4 separate regions of the Homo sapiens genome follow, and regions 1, 2 and 4 are each linked to region 3. Evidence: promoter capture Hi-C in human tissues and cell types (Jung and others, 2019). All regions are on one chromosome and are shown on one strand. Each heading gives the region's core, a stretch centred on a gene start or on the middle of the fragment in contact. The rest is flanking DNA. Distances are from core to core; before and after follow the strand shown.

What was found. Contacts are between HindIII fragments. The study calls those that stand out against the background at their distance.
Region 1: a contact is called between a fragment that was not itself captured here and the fragment with the promoter of ELAVL1 in region 3, in 4 of the 25 tissues and cell types used here (IMR-90 fibroblasts, adrenal gland, liver and 1 more).
Region 2: a contact is called between the fragment with the promoter of RAB11B here and the fragment with the promoter of ELAVL1 in region 3, in 1 of the 25 tissues and cell types used here (spleen).
Region 4: the fragment with the promoter of CD320 here is called in contact with the fragment with the promoter of ELAVL1 in region 3 in 1 of the 25 tissues and cell types used here (dorsolateral prefrontal cortex).

What each region holds. Positions count from the first base shown.
Region 1 is chr19:8,469,803-8,473,238 of GRCh38, reverse strand. HNRNPM (heterogeneous nuclear ribonucleoprotein M) reads right to left here. Exons shown (of 16, transcript NM_005968.5): 10 at 1,812-1,913. Among named protein-coding and RNA genes, the nearest start is that of HNRNPM, 27 kb to the right of the region's middle. The HindIII fragment of the contact is 4,970 bases long and covers 1-3,436 here.
Region 2 is chr19:8,388,670-8,392,145 of GRCh38, reverse strand. It overlaps RAB11B (RAB11B, member RAS oncogene family), which reads right to left and starts at 1,786. Exons shown (of 5, transcript NM_004218.4): 1 at 1,690-1,786. The coding sequence starts at 1,729. RAB11B-AS1 (RAB11B antisense RNA 1) reads left to right here and starts at 1,455. Exons shown (of 3, transcript NR_038237.1): 1 at 1,455-2,137. MIR4999 (microRNA 4999) reads left to right here and starts at 2,766; the gene lies at 2,766-2,856. RefSeq lists silencers at 1,394-1,653, 1,873-2,154 and an enhancer at 1,924-2,123. The HindIII fragment of the contact is 12,481 bases long and covers 1-3,476 here.
Region 3 is chr19:8,004,068-8,007,145 of GRCh38, reverse strand. It overlaps ELAVL1 (ELAV like RNA binding protein 1), which reads left to right and starts at 1,505. Exons shown (of 6, transcript NM_001419.3): 1 at 1,505-1,651. LOC105372266 (a long non-coding RNA gene) reads right to left here and starts at 1,333. Exons shown (of 4, transcript XR_936302.2): 1 at 1,188-1,333. RefSeq lists silencers at 1,130-1,619, 1,850-2,049, 2,080-2,129. The HindIII fragment of the contact is 8,326 bases long and covers 1-3,078 here.
Region 4 is chr19:8,307,108-8,310,308 of GRCh38, reverse strand. CD320 (CD320 molecule) reads left to right here and starts at 1,951. Exons shown (of 5, transcript NM_016579.4): 1 at 1,951-2,160. The coding sequence starts at 2,019. It also overlaps a transcript of NDUFA7 not described here. RefSeq lists enhancers at 1,123-1,652, 1,708-2,447, 2,332-2,461, 2,448-3,188 and silencers at 1,849-2,187, 2,162-2,251. The HindIII fragment of the contact is 38,311 bases long and covers 1-3,201 here.

The DNA of each region.
Region 1 (3,436 bases), core at 525-3,024, 470 kb before region 3:
CAGGGTCTCCTTCTGTCACTGGGGCTGGAATGCAGTGGCATGGTCACAGCTCCCTACAGCCTCAACATCCCAGGCTCAAGTGATCCTCTTGCCTCAGCCTCCCAAGTAGCTGGGACTACGCCACCACACCTGGCTGATTTTTTTTATATTTTGTAGAGATGGAGTCTATGTCGCCTAGACTAGTCTCAAACCCTCGGCCTCCAAATTGCTGGGATTACAGGCATAAGCCACCACACCAGGCCTCAAGTTAGGCAGTATTAAACATGAAATAGAATTATAAGACACATTCTATGGAACATAAACTTTTTAGAAAATTTTAGGGAACAGAAGTAGATTTTTTTTAAGAATCCCTGTTAAGGGTGGGCGTGGTGACTCACGCCTGTAATCCCAGCACTTCAGGAAGCCGAGGCGGGTGGATCACCTGAGGTCAGGAGTTCCAGCCCGGCCTGACCAACATGGTGAAACCCTGTCTCTACTAAATACAAAAAATTAGCTGGGTGTGGTGGCACATGCCTGTAATCCCAGCTACTTGGGAGGCTGAGGCAGGAGAATCACTTGAACCCAGGAGGCAGAGATTGAGTGCGGTAAGCTGAGATTGAGCCACTGCACTCCAGCCTGGGCAACAAGAGCAAAATTCCGTCTCAATAAATCAATCCCTGTTAAAGGTAAAATCTTCAAAATAAAAACCAGTTCCTAAAAACACCAAGACTTCCTCCCCAACCCCCAGTCTTTCTGTTTAGATGTCAGACATGGGGTGTGTGTGTTTTGGGTCGGGGGAAACGTTAACAGCCATTTGAAGTTGTGGCCCAGAATTTAAGTCAGCCCCAGGGTGACTCTGGAAGAGAGTCTAGGGATATGCAACACTGACAATGGTGGGATAGAGGGGCTTCCATATTCCAATTTCAAAGGATTCCAACAAAGACCAAAGTCTAAGGTCATAAAAATGACATATTCCTTAATAGAATCAAAATACATCATTACACAGCAATGAAAATGCTAAACAGCAAAGCCTGAGTTTATTCTACACATCAAAGCTTTCATGCAGGTTTTTTTTTTTTTTTTTTTTCTGGAGACGGACTCTCGCTCTGTTGCCAGGCTGAAGTGCAGTCATGTGATCTCAGCTCACTGCAACCTCCGCCTCCCGGGTTCAAGCAATTCTCCTGCCTCAGCCTCTTGAGTAACTGGGATTACAGGCGTGCGCCACCACGCCCGGCTAATTGTTTTATTTTTAGTAGAGATGGGGTTTCACCATGTTGGCCAGGATGGTCTCAAACTCCTGACCTTGTGATCCGCCCACCTCGGCCTCCCAAAGTGCTGGGATTACAGGCGTGAGCCACCGTGCCTGGCCTCTCCACCTTTTTTGCATCTATCAATGCCCCTAGCTCTCTAGCAGCAGCTGTGCAAACACCAGGAGGGCCCAAAGGGGTCTTGGTAAGACACTTTTCAGGGCACTGCGGCAGTGCTATGGTCCCGTGGTCAGGAGACCTGCAGCCTGTCAGTAACTGACAGTGTGACCTTGAGCAAGATCAACTCTCTGGCTTGCCTCCTCTTATCAAATGGCACAACTATTTCAGCTTAGAAGGTTGTTGTCAGGTTACAATGAAAAAGCATAATGACTTTTTAAAAAATGACTCAACTTGATAAAAATACAAAATACTGCCTTTATTCAAAATGAGGCAGAGATGAATAAGGAGGGAATTTTGTCCCAGTTAAATATTTATTCCATTTAAACTACTCAAAGTCCAGTTGTCCCAATAATTAATAATTTTCACTTCCCCAAACCACCAAGCAAGGTGCACTGTCATTCTCACCTGCGGGACCTATGTTTCCCATTCCGATGCCTTTATTCAGGTGATTGGCATCAATGGGTTGCCCTCCTGGTCCTAACCCCATGCCAATACCACCAAGGCCATCTGGAAAGAAAAGAGAAAGAAGCTTAGTTTTCCCCTATTTAGCAAACCTTGACCCTCAAAGGAAAAGAGTGTTTAGTGAGTTGCAGCTATCCACTTCAGCCTACCCACCCCCACCCACCAGTGACCTCAGGGCCCAATGCAAAATTCAACATCGGCACACTTGGAAACAGAGCCTTGTTCCGGCGTTTGGGATATGTGTGTATACAACAAAGGCGGCTGAAAACCAACACGGGAAAGTTAACAACCCCCACACTAAGATTCTTGAGAGCCTATTTGTTTCACTAACCCATGGACTGAGAACTGTCTGATCAAAAAAGGTGACTCAAGACATCAGGTGGCAAGCAGCACAAATGTGCCCAATCCCTAGTAGCCCAAAGGATGTTTCTCATGAAAAAACACGTTACAAACCAGCCAATCAACATCCTGGGTGTCCACTACTCTCTGAATCTGGGTGGTTTTAGTAACAATGAAGCTAATGTATGTATTCAAAGAACCTATCTTCCTTCCCCCAAAGCTTCCCAACCCACAACTGGATACCCAGCCCACACTCAACTCCATGCCCTACCAACACAGACAGGGACACAGAAATACAGGCTGGTCTCTGGAAACAGCCAAAAGAGCTGACACTTGCAATATCTGGGGTAACCACCATCTGAGGCTTAAACTACAACCAGGTAAGCTTTTAAAAATCGTAACAAGGGCAGGCGCAGTGGCTCACGCCTGAAATCCCAGCACTTTGGGAGGCCAAGGCGGGTGGATCACGTGAGGTCAGGAGTTCGAGACCATCCTGGCCAACATGGCAAAACCCCATCTCTACTAAAAAAAAAAAAAAATTAGCCTGGCATGGTGGCACATGCCTGTAATCGCTGCTACTTGGAAGGCTGACAGGAGAATCACTAGAACCCAGGAAATGGAGGTTGCAGCAAGCCAAGACCGCACCACTGCACTCCAGCCTGGGCGACAGAGCGAGACTCCATCAAAAAGAAAGAAAAAGGAAGAAAGGAAGGAAAGAAAGCAAACAAAGTTCATTTAAAAAGTAAATAAAACCTGCCACCACTTCCCAGGCGTTTCATCTGATGAACATTCCATCTTTAATTGCATAGCAACAGCAGCAAGAGATCGCCACGGTGACTTACTCTCCCAAAGCACTGAAGGCTTTGAAGTCAAGCCTCCGAAATGGCCGGGAGACCAAGAGCCATGGATAACAGGCTCCCTGGAGCAGTGTGCTCCTCCTCCTGCTCCAGCACAAGAGTCAACAAGAGCCATCGCCATGGTCCAGGGTGACCACTGCTCAGGTGAGCACACTGACAATTTATTTGGGAAATGAGTATGTTATGTCCAGGAAATGCAATCCTTCTCTAACTAATGTTGCCTTTCAACAGATGAGCCTTCTCATGAAGCCACAGATTTCCCTTCAAGATACATCTGTCATGCTGCCATAATGCTACGCTGCAAAGGTGCTCTGGCCTGGGCTCCCATCCAACTCAGTGAGTAGGGCCCTGAGCTTGAGCTGCTGCTCCAGA
Region 2 (3,476 bases), core at 537-3,036, 380 kb before region 3:
CAGCCAGGACCTGGGAGCAGCTGCCTCACGGTGGGCTGAGTGGAGATGGCACCCGATCAGCAGGACCCAAAGTTTAGTCCCCCTGTCTCCAGACGGCCCCTTAGAATCCCAGTCTCCAAAACCCTTCCAAAGCTTCCTCCTGCCACGAGGGGCGAGACCTTGGGCCGGGCACCTGCTGACCACAGAGCCTCACCCACCAGTGACATTATCAACCTGTGTGCAGCTGCCAGAGCCCTCAGTGCCACAGGACGACTCTAGGCCCTTGTAGAGGCACTTCCTCTCCCTCCCCCCGGAAGGCTTTCGCCACACGGACAGCCCAGGTGGGGAGACCTCTGCCTCATTCCCCACAATCAGAAGACGCTGGATGAGACCAGACACAAGGCCCAGCTAGGCCTGGTGCAAGCCACAGAGCACACTCGGAGGAACGGCTCAGCGAGGTGAGGATACCAACAGCTGATGTGCGACGCAGGCCCTCATAGAGCAGGCCGCAGGGTGAAGGCACCTTGGATCCAGGGGTTAGCCCTCAAGGGCTGCCATTGTCAGCCAGGGAGCCCAGCAACCAGGGCAGACCACTAGGCCAAAGTGTAGCTGGGCACAGAAGGCTCAGCTGAGAAACAAGGGACTCCGGCTTCCTCCAGCTGTCCCTAAATGGGCAATGGCTGCCTGATCTACCTAGGCCTTATGTGATGCTCCTAGAGCCCCCTCAGTCCCTCGGGCGGGGAAGACCCTCCAGCAGGCTGGCTGGGGCCCCGGCCATCAGTGCGCACGTGTTGGAAGAAGTTGGTCCAACAACCCAAAGTCCCAGATGCTGGCCACAAGCCCCCTAAGACACGCTTCCTAAGTGGTAAGGCCTACAGGTGGCCTGGGCTCAATCGGGTTCCAACACTTATAAACTGTGTCTTTGTCACTCTGGGCCTCAGTTTCCCAACGTGTAAAAAGAGAGGCTGGTTAGTATCAACCTCAAAGGGCTGCAGTGAGGATTTTAGTTAATTCGGGTAAAGTGCTCAGAAAAGTGCAAGTACTGGCTTAGCACTGTTGAGAGTTCTGAGTGAAGAGATGGAATTCTTGCTGCACACACGGGTGCCTTTCCACTCAATCCCAGCTTTGCACCCCAATCCAAGGCTCCCACCACCACACACCTCACCCCCAGGCCCTCATCTCGGCCCAGCCCCCATTGCCTGCCCCGCCTCTCCCGGGCCCCACCCCCAAACACGCTGCCCCAATCAGGACAAGCCTCGTGAGAGCCCCGCCTCCGTTTGCCCAGGCCCAACCCACCTATTGGTCACGCCCATCACGCCTTAGCCCCGCCCCTAAAAACCCCGCCCCCATCCCGAATCACGCTTTCAGCCCAGCCCGGCCCGCCAAATCTTGGGAAAGCTCCACCCCCTGCGGAGGCCCCGCCCTAACAGCCTCTCCCACCGCTCCGGGCCCCACCCCCTCTAGGCTCTGGCCCCGCCCCGGCGCGTCCTAGGTCCCCCAGGTCTCTCCGGGCCTCCGGCTCCGTATAGCCGCGCATCCTAGCCCGAAGCTGATGCTGCCCGGTCGGCTCCGGCCTTCCCGGCTGCCTGACCCGCCGGGCCCCAAGCCCCGGGCTCCGGCCTGGGCCCAGCGGCCTGGAGCGCGGCCTTGGCCCGTCTGCCCGCCGCCTCGCCGCCACGACTTCGCCCGTCTGTGCCCCACCGGCCGCACCTTTGAATAGGTAGTCGTACTCGTCGTCCCGGGTCCCCATTGTCCTGGCGCTTCCGGCGGGATCGGCGACTCCGCAGCCCCACCACAAACACCCGACGGGGGCGGAGCCGGCGCCGCGCAGAGCGGCGGTTGAATGGCCTATCAGCGGCGAGTGGAGTAGCGACGGGCACCCAGCGAAGCCAATCAGAGATGGAAGTAGTGCTCTGAGGGTGGGCGCCGCTTGGTACCACCCTCCTCGCCCTCGGTGTCCTGGAGAAAGGCGGAAGGAATGCGGACCTTTTTGAAGTGACGGACGCGCCAGCCTATCAGGGGCGAGCTCAAGAGGGCGGGGCGGAAGACTGCAGGAATGAAATGGATTGACAGACCAAATAACTAATGAGAGGCTTGATTGAGAACCTACCCGACTATCAGAGGACCTGTCCGGGAAGAGAAATGGGGCTACGTCCAGGTAATGCTACGATGCTTAACGTCCCGATGACGTCATAGGTCAGCGCGCGCTGCCCTGGTCGCCCCCCAAGCCCATAAATGACCATTTCCGGGGACCTCAGCGCTGGGTCCCCTTTCTCGGTTGCAGTCTCCATCTCTATATTGGGACTCACTGGGTTATCCTTCTGTGCCTCAGTTTCCTCCTCTGTAAACTGAAGAAACCCGTCTCATGGAATCTTTTGAAAATAACCAGATCAGCCAGGCGCGGTGGCTCACGCCTGTAATTCCAGGACTTTGGGAGGCCGAGGCTGGCGGATCACGAGGTCAGGAGTTCGAGACCAGCCTGACCAACATGGTGAAACCCCGTTTCTACTAAAAATACAAAAATTAGTCGGGCGTGGTCGCTGGTGCCTGTAAACCCAGCTACTCAGGAGGTTGAGGCAGGAGAATCGCTTGAACCTGGGAGGTGGAGGTTGCAGTGAGCCGAGATTGCACCAAGTGTGAATCAACCGTCCACTTTCTGCTATTCTTTGTTAAATAAATACTTTTAAATCCTTACTGGATACCAATGCTCTCCAACAGGACCTCCTACCACTACCCCTCTTTTGTCCTATATTTTGCCACATAGGTAAAATATAAAAATAGGTAATATAGAAAATAAAACACATACTGCTGTATTGTCAGGTAGTGATAGGATTTATCACTACCTGACAATACAGTATGTGTTTGTTTTATATATTTAGGGTGTACAGCGTGTGTTTTGATACACATGTACCCAGTGAAATAATAATTATGACAGTTTTTTTTTTTTTTTTTGAGACGGAGTTTTGCTGTCGTTGCCCAGGCTGAAGTGCAATGGTGTGCTCTCGGCTCACTGCAGCCTCTGCCTCCCGGGTTCAAGCGATTCTCATGCCTCAGCCTCCCGAATAGCTGGGATTACAGGCATGCACCACCATGCTTGGCTAATTTTTTTGTATTTTTAGTAGAGACGGGGTTTCTCCATGTTGGTCAGGCTGATCTCGAACTCCTGACCTCAGGTGATTCGCCCACCTTGGCCTCCCAAAGTGCTGGGATTACAGGCATTTTCACCACACATGGCCAATTATGAGAGTTAAGCAATTAACCTATCCATTGCCTTCCATAATTAACTGTGTGTGTAGTGAGAGTATCTAAAATGTACTTTCTTGGCAAATTTTCAATATACTATGCAAAATTATTAACACAAAGTATACGTTACTTTTTGTTTGTTTGTTTTGGCTGGCTGCGGTGGCTTATGCCTAAAAACATGCCCTTTGAGGAGGCTGAGGTGGGAGGATCACTTGAGGCCAGGAGCTAGAGACCAGCCTAGGCAACATGTCAAA
Region 3 (3,078 bases), core at 256-2,755:
AAGAAACAGGCTGGGCACCGTGGCTCCCGCCTGTAATCCCAACACTTTGGGAGGCCAAAGCAGGAGGATCACTTAAGTCTAGAAGTTTGAGACCAGCCTAGGCAATACAGCAAGACCTCATCGCTACAAAAAAATAAAACATTAGCCAGGCATAGTGGCACATCCTGTAGTCTAAGCTACTCAGGAATCTGAAGCCGGAGGATTGATTGCCTGAGCTGGGGAAGTTGAGGCTGCAGTTAGCTGTGATCATACCACCGCACTCCAAATTGGGTGACAGAGTGAGATCCTGTCTCAAAAAAAAAAAAAAAAAAAGAAAAACAAAATTGTAGGCCAGGCGCAGTGGCTCAAGCCTGTAATCCCAGCACTTTGGGAGGCTGAGGCGGGCAGATCACGAGGTCAAGAGATACAGATCATCATGGCCAACACGGTGAAACCCCGTCTCTACTAAAAATACAAAAATTAGCTGGTTGTGGTGGCGCAGCGCCTGTAGGCCCAACTACTTAGGAGGCTGAGGCAGGAGAATCGCTTGAACCTGGGAAGCGGAGGTTGCAGTGAGCGGAGATCACGCCACTGCACTCCAGCCTGGCGACAGAGCGAGTCTCCGTCTCAAATAAATAAATAAATAAATAAAAATAAAAAGACTATTATTTTCAGATCATAAAAAAAAAAAAGAAAAAATTAGGCAGAGTGCAGGCATGCCTGTAATCCCAGCTCTTTGGGAGGCGGAGGCAGGAGAATCGCTTGAGTCCAGGAGTTCGAGACCAGCCTGGGCAACAGAACCAGAGCCCATCTTTACATAAAAAAAAATTAAACATGTAGCTTGCATGTATTTCTACTAGGGCATTCTAGGCCAGCGCTGGTTTAGAATGTTAGCCCAATAAGACCAGGTATTTTTTTTCTGCTCACTGCCCATACAGTGATTGACACACAGTAGGCGCTCAATGACATTTTAATGAATGAATGAGATGCTGAGCCTTCGGGAACTGGCTTGCTCAAAGAGCCAGCACCGATGAAGCGCTGACCACGTTCCATGCCCCGCCTCCTCAGCGCACCAGAGAAGGAAACTGAGGCCCGGCAAGGTGACGTCAGCTCCTGCCCAACGGCACGTAGTGCGGAAACGTCGGGGCCGGGATTCGAACCCAGGTTCTGTACCCGTAACCCCGGCGCGCTGACCTTTCCTACCTTACCGGGCGGCGGCAGGACAGACAGGTGCGGGACACACGGCGAGCGCTCAACCAGAGGCGCCGCTCCTCAGCCACCGCCTTCCGTCAGCCTCCGAGGGCCGGAACCCAGTTCGCCCCCTCCGCGGCCATCGCTGGCTGCCCGCGTCTCCGCCGGCCGCGGAGCACTTCGCAGGCGGCGCCGACCGGAAGTCCCGCCTCTCCCGCGCGCCCCGGAGCGCCGCGACAGCTACGCCGGCCAATGAGCAGCGCGCCGTGGCGGACGTCGGCCAATGGGCTCGCGCGCGGGGGGGGCGTGTCCGGGCCGCGGGCCGGAGCGGGTCGTGCGCGCTGAGGAGGAGCCGCTGCCGCCGTCGCCGTCGCCGCCACCGCCGCCACCGCTACCGAGGCCGAGCGGAGCCGTTAGCGCCGCGCCGCCGCCGCCTCCCGCCCGCCCCGGAGCAGCCCCGGGCCCGCCCGCCCGCATCCAGGTGAGGCGGTGGGGGGCCTTCGGCGGCGCCCGACGGGGTAGGCCGCGGCAGGCCTGAGCTCGCCTGGCCTGGCCGCGGGGCGCCCGCGGGCCTGCACCGGCCGAGGCCCAGGCCGCGCCGGACCGGGGGAGGGGACGCGCGCTGGGGCCGCGGCGGGCGGGTCGGGGCGGGCCGGTGTGGGCGCCGGCTACAGGCCCCGGGGCCGGATTCCTCTGGCGCCTCGAGGGACGGGCGAGGGGGATACGGCGTGGGCATGCGCCGGGGGGCCGGGCTGCACGGCCGGGGGCCCCGGTCGCCTTGGAAGCCCGGGCTCCGGGGGCGGGAGAGTGGGGCCAGCTACGGGGGAGCGCCGGGAACGCTTTGAGCGCGCAGAGGTCACGGCCCACGGGCTTGCTCCCCCGGGAAATCCCACAGATTCTTTTGTGGTCGTTGTCAGAGCACCGCGGCCGGTGCGAGGTCCTTTGAGAAGTGTGCAAACCCTTCAGTAGATACACGGGAGTCCTGGGGGAAAAAAAAAATCTAAACTGCATCTTTTTTTGAGCGCCATCTCTAACAAAGCTGTTTGTGGGGCGTGGGACGTTAGGATTTGTAAAATATGTGTGTGTGCCTGTTGGAAACACAAGCTGCACACAGTTGAACAATGGGGGATGGATGCCCTTCCTTCCTTTTCCGGTGCTCTGGGCTGCGGGGCTTGTTAAAATGGGTTTTGGTCCCTACTGTGTGCAGGGCAGGTGGAGAAGAACTTCTGCACAACTTCTGCATGGGCTTCCCGTGGTGGGACTGAGCCCCCTTGCTAGAAAGTGTTCATCTAAGATCCGGATGGCCAGAAATGGGAAGATGAGGAGAATGATCTGTCTAGAGCAGGGTTTCTCGACGTTGGCCCTACTGATGTTTGGGGTCAGATAGTTTTTGGTTGTGGTGGTAGTGGGGGCTTCCCTGTGCAATGTAGGAAGTTGAGCCGTATTCCTGGCCTCTACCCACTAGATGCCAGCAGTATCCCCATGCTCCAAGTCGTGAGGATCAAAAGTATCTCCAAACATTGCCAGATGGCTCGGGTTGCGGGGGAGGGGTCTCTTCCACTCTCACACGCACAGGTGAGAACCATTACTGAACTAAATGCTCTTCCTCCAAAAGTTCTAATGCCCTGGGAGATGCTCCCAAGACCTCGAACAAGCTTGACTCTGTTGAGCCTTAGTTTTCTTATCTATAAAATGGGAAGGACAAAAGTGTGGTGCAAATTGAAGAGGGTGGAAATCCCGTTGCGTTGTGCGTGGTCTGTGCCTGGTAGGCACTGAATAAATGATGTTGTACATAGCCACCAGTATTTATTGAGGATTTACTATGTGCTTGACACTTTGTGGACGTTTGTCTGCAGTCCTTGAGGCAGGTGATGTTATAATTTCCATTAATTTCCATTTTAGAGATGA
Region 4 (3,201 bases), core at 702-3,201, 300 kb before region 3:
TACAGGCGCCTGCCACAAGCCCAGCTAATTTTTGTATTTTTAGTAGAGACGGGGTTTCGCCATGTTGGCCAGGCTGGTCTCAAACTCCTGACCTCAAGTGATCCGCCCACCTCTGCCTCCCGAAGTGTTGGGATTACAGGCGTGAGCCACCGCGCCTGGCCTAACTTCCATCTCTTGAGGGCTCCCACAGCCACTTCTCACATGAACCTTCCTCAGCACCTTCCCACTGAGGCTCCTGCTTGACCATGGTCACCCTGCAGCTCAACGGGGAAGGCAGAGGACAGTAAGGGCTGCTCACAGGGAAGGCAAACCTAGGGCAGATCAGGAAAGGCCTCCCTGAGCCAGATCCCATTATGCTGGGGCTGTGGGATAAGAATGAATTCGCCCCAGAAGGAAGGCAGCTGGTTCCTGGGGAGGAGACAGAAATCTGCAAAGGGAGGGTGTCCAAGTCTGGCTGCAGGAGCCACCCAGTGACCCTACGCAGGGGAGTGTCATGGCTTCCCCAGGGCACAGCCCCAGACCCTTCAGCAGCTAAAAAAGATCAGCTGTGGACCAAGAGGGTGCTGAGACCGCCCTGCCCTCTGGAAGGGGAAAGGCCACGGCTACAGGCAGCAGGTACCAGTGTCCCAGAGTGGGTCCTACAAAGGCTAACACCTTCCTGGAGAAGGTGGGATTCTGCTTGGGGCAAAAGGATGAATCAGATTCAGAAAGGTCAGGAGGGAAGGAAAGACTAGGCAGGGTGTGCAGAGGCCACAAGGAGGGCAAGACCCTAGGCAAGGCATGCCGCTGACGGCATCTGAACCAAGTTTTATGACCACAACTTTTTTTTTTTTTTGAGACAGAGTCTCACTCTGTCACCCAGGCTGGAGTTCAATGATGTGGTCTCGGCGCACTGCAACCTCCGCCTCCCGGGTTCAAGCGATTCTCCCATCTCAGCCTCCCTAGTAGCTGGGACTACAGGAGCATGTTACCACACCCGGCTAATTTTTGTATTTTTGGTAGAGACGGGAGTTTTACTATGTTGGCCAGGCTGGTTTAGAACTCCTGACCTCGTGATCCGCCTGCCTCGGCCTCCCAAAGTGCTGGGGTTAACAGGCGTGAGCCAGCGCGCCGGCCAACTTTTCTAACAAATGGGGTCTCACTGTCACCCACGCTGGAGTGCAGCCCCAAGTGATTCTCCCACCTCAGCCTCCTGAGTAGCTGGGACTACAAATTAGAGCCACCATGCCCAGCTAATTTTCTTTTTTCTTGAGGCGGGCGGGGACTTGCTGTGTTGCCCAGGCTGATCTCGAACTCCTGGGCTCAAGCGATCTGCCCGCCTCTGCTTCCCAAAATGCTGGGATCACACACGTGACCCACCGCGCCCGGCCTTTATTATTAAATTTAATTAATTAATTGATTTCCTTTCCTTTTTCCCCCCCAAGCAACCCGACTCCGAGAATGGACGTTTCATTTATTCATTTACTCACCAAATGTTTACTAAGAGCCTACTATGAGTCAAGCACTATGTGTCAGATCCTGAGAATAAAGCAGTGAGCAACAGAAGATCCCTGCCCTCCAGTAGCTAGCATTCTATGGGGACTCGGACAACAAACCAGAATAAGTAAATAAAATAAATTACCTGTCGGCGCCACAAAAGCAGTGGGATGAGGGAGGAAATGCGGAGTGCCTGAGGGGCGTGGCTGCCATATTAAAGAAGATCACGAGGCAGTAACATTTGCAGCAGTCCTCATTTGGAACGGGAAATAATGCAAATGAACACCAACAAATTCCTTCCCATCCCCAGAAGTTTCTAACTTCAAGCGGGCTCCATACCTTTCAACTGATCTGGTCACTGGGGAAAGTGGGGACGGGCCTCTAATTCTCTTTTCCCTGCTATTCTGACATTTACGGTACGCGTAGCCGCGGGCGCCGCAGAACTCAGGGGCTTGGGCCCCGCCCCAACCCCGCGCGTGCGCGTGCGCAGGGATAAGAGAGCGGTCTGGACAGCGCGTGGCCGGCGCCGCTGTGGGGACAGCATGAGCGGCGGTTGGATGGCGCAGGTTGGAGCGTGGCGAACAGGGGCTCTGGGCCTGGCGCTGCTGCTGCTGCTCGGCCTCGGACTAGGCCTGGAGGCCGCCGCGAGCCCGCTTTCCACCCCGACCTCTGCCCAGGCCGCAGGTGAGTGACGCCCCGCAGCGCGGGCTCCCACCCCTCGCGAGGCTTCGCCCCGCCGCCGCGCACCGACAACGCCTAGTCACTGGCTGCACCGCACGTCAGTTCATGACACTCCCCCAGCACGTGGACTTGGACTTCATCGCTTGTGGGAAGGCGCGCACTGGTGCTAGGAAGACCCCATGCTGGGGGAGGGGAGGAGGGTGTCTCCACCTGCCTTTAACGGTTTTGCTCCGGCCCTGCACACCGTCTCCACACCTGCTGTGCCCTGTCGTCCCCCATTGTCACCTCCAAGCCGCCCTTCATACCAGCGTGGTCAGGAAAGCTCTTAGCAGGCTCAGATTGTCCGACCGCTAATCACGCAGGACGGGTCACCTGGTGCCTCTCGCACCTTTGCCTTCCAAACCCTCGCGCCCAGGCCTTGTGACCGTTCCGCAACCGTCCCTGCCCTCCCAGTCTCTCCTCCTTTGTCCTCCATCCTTAGAGAACGCGAGGTCTCTCCCCCCCATGCTACTGCAGGCTCTCGCAGAGACTGGGGTCACAAGTTGAATATACCCCCGTGGACGTGTTCGCCCTGGCCTAAGAGGTATTGGTGGCCAGTGGGGACGGGCTCCCTCTCTGATACCCCTAGAGGCAGCTGGAGGGTTGGAGTGGCCTCCCTGTGCACTCAGGCACTCCCAACTTGCAGCCCTGGGCTCAGGCTCACACACTTTCCCAGCTCCTTTGTGCATTCCGCACTTCTAGGTCCCTGGACTCATCCCAAAGTCCCTGACATTCACGTTAAATGTTCCTGGGTTTTTTTTTGTTTGTTTTTTTTTAAGGAGGCAGCGTTCACGTTAACCAAGTACAAAAGTTTTTGTTTTTTTTTTTTTGAGTCTCCCTCTGTCGCCCTGGCTGGAGTGCAGTGCAATGTTGGCTCACTGCACCCTCCGCCTCCCGGGTTTAAGCAATTCTCATGCCTCAGCCTCCCGAGTAGCTTGGGACTACAGGCACCGTCACCATGCCCGGCTAATTTTTGTATTTTTAGTAGAGATGGGGTTTCACCAT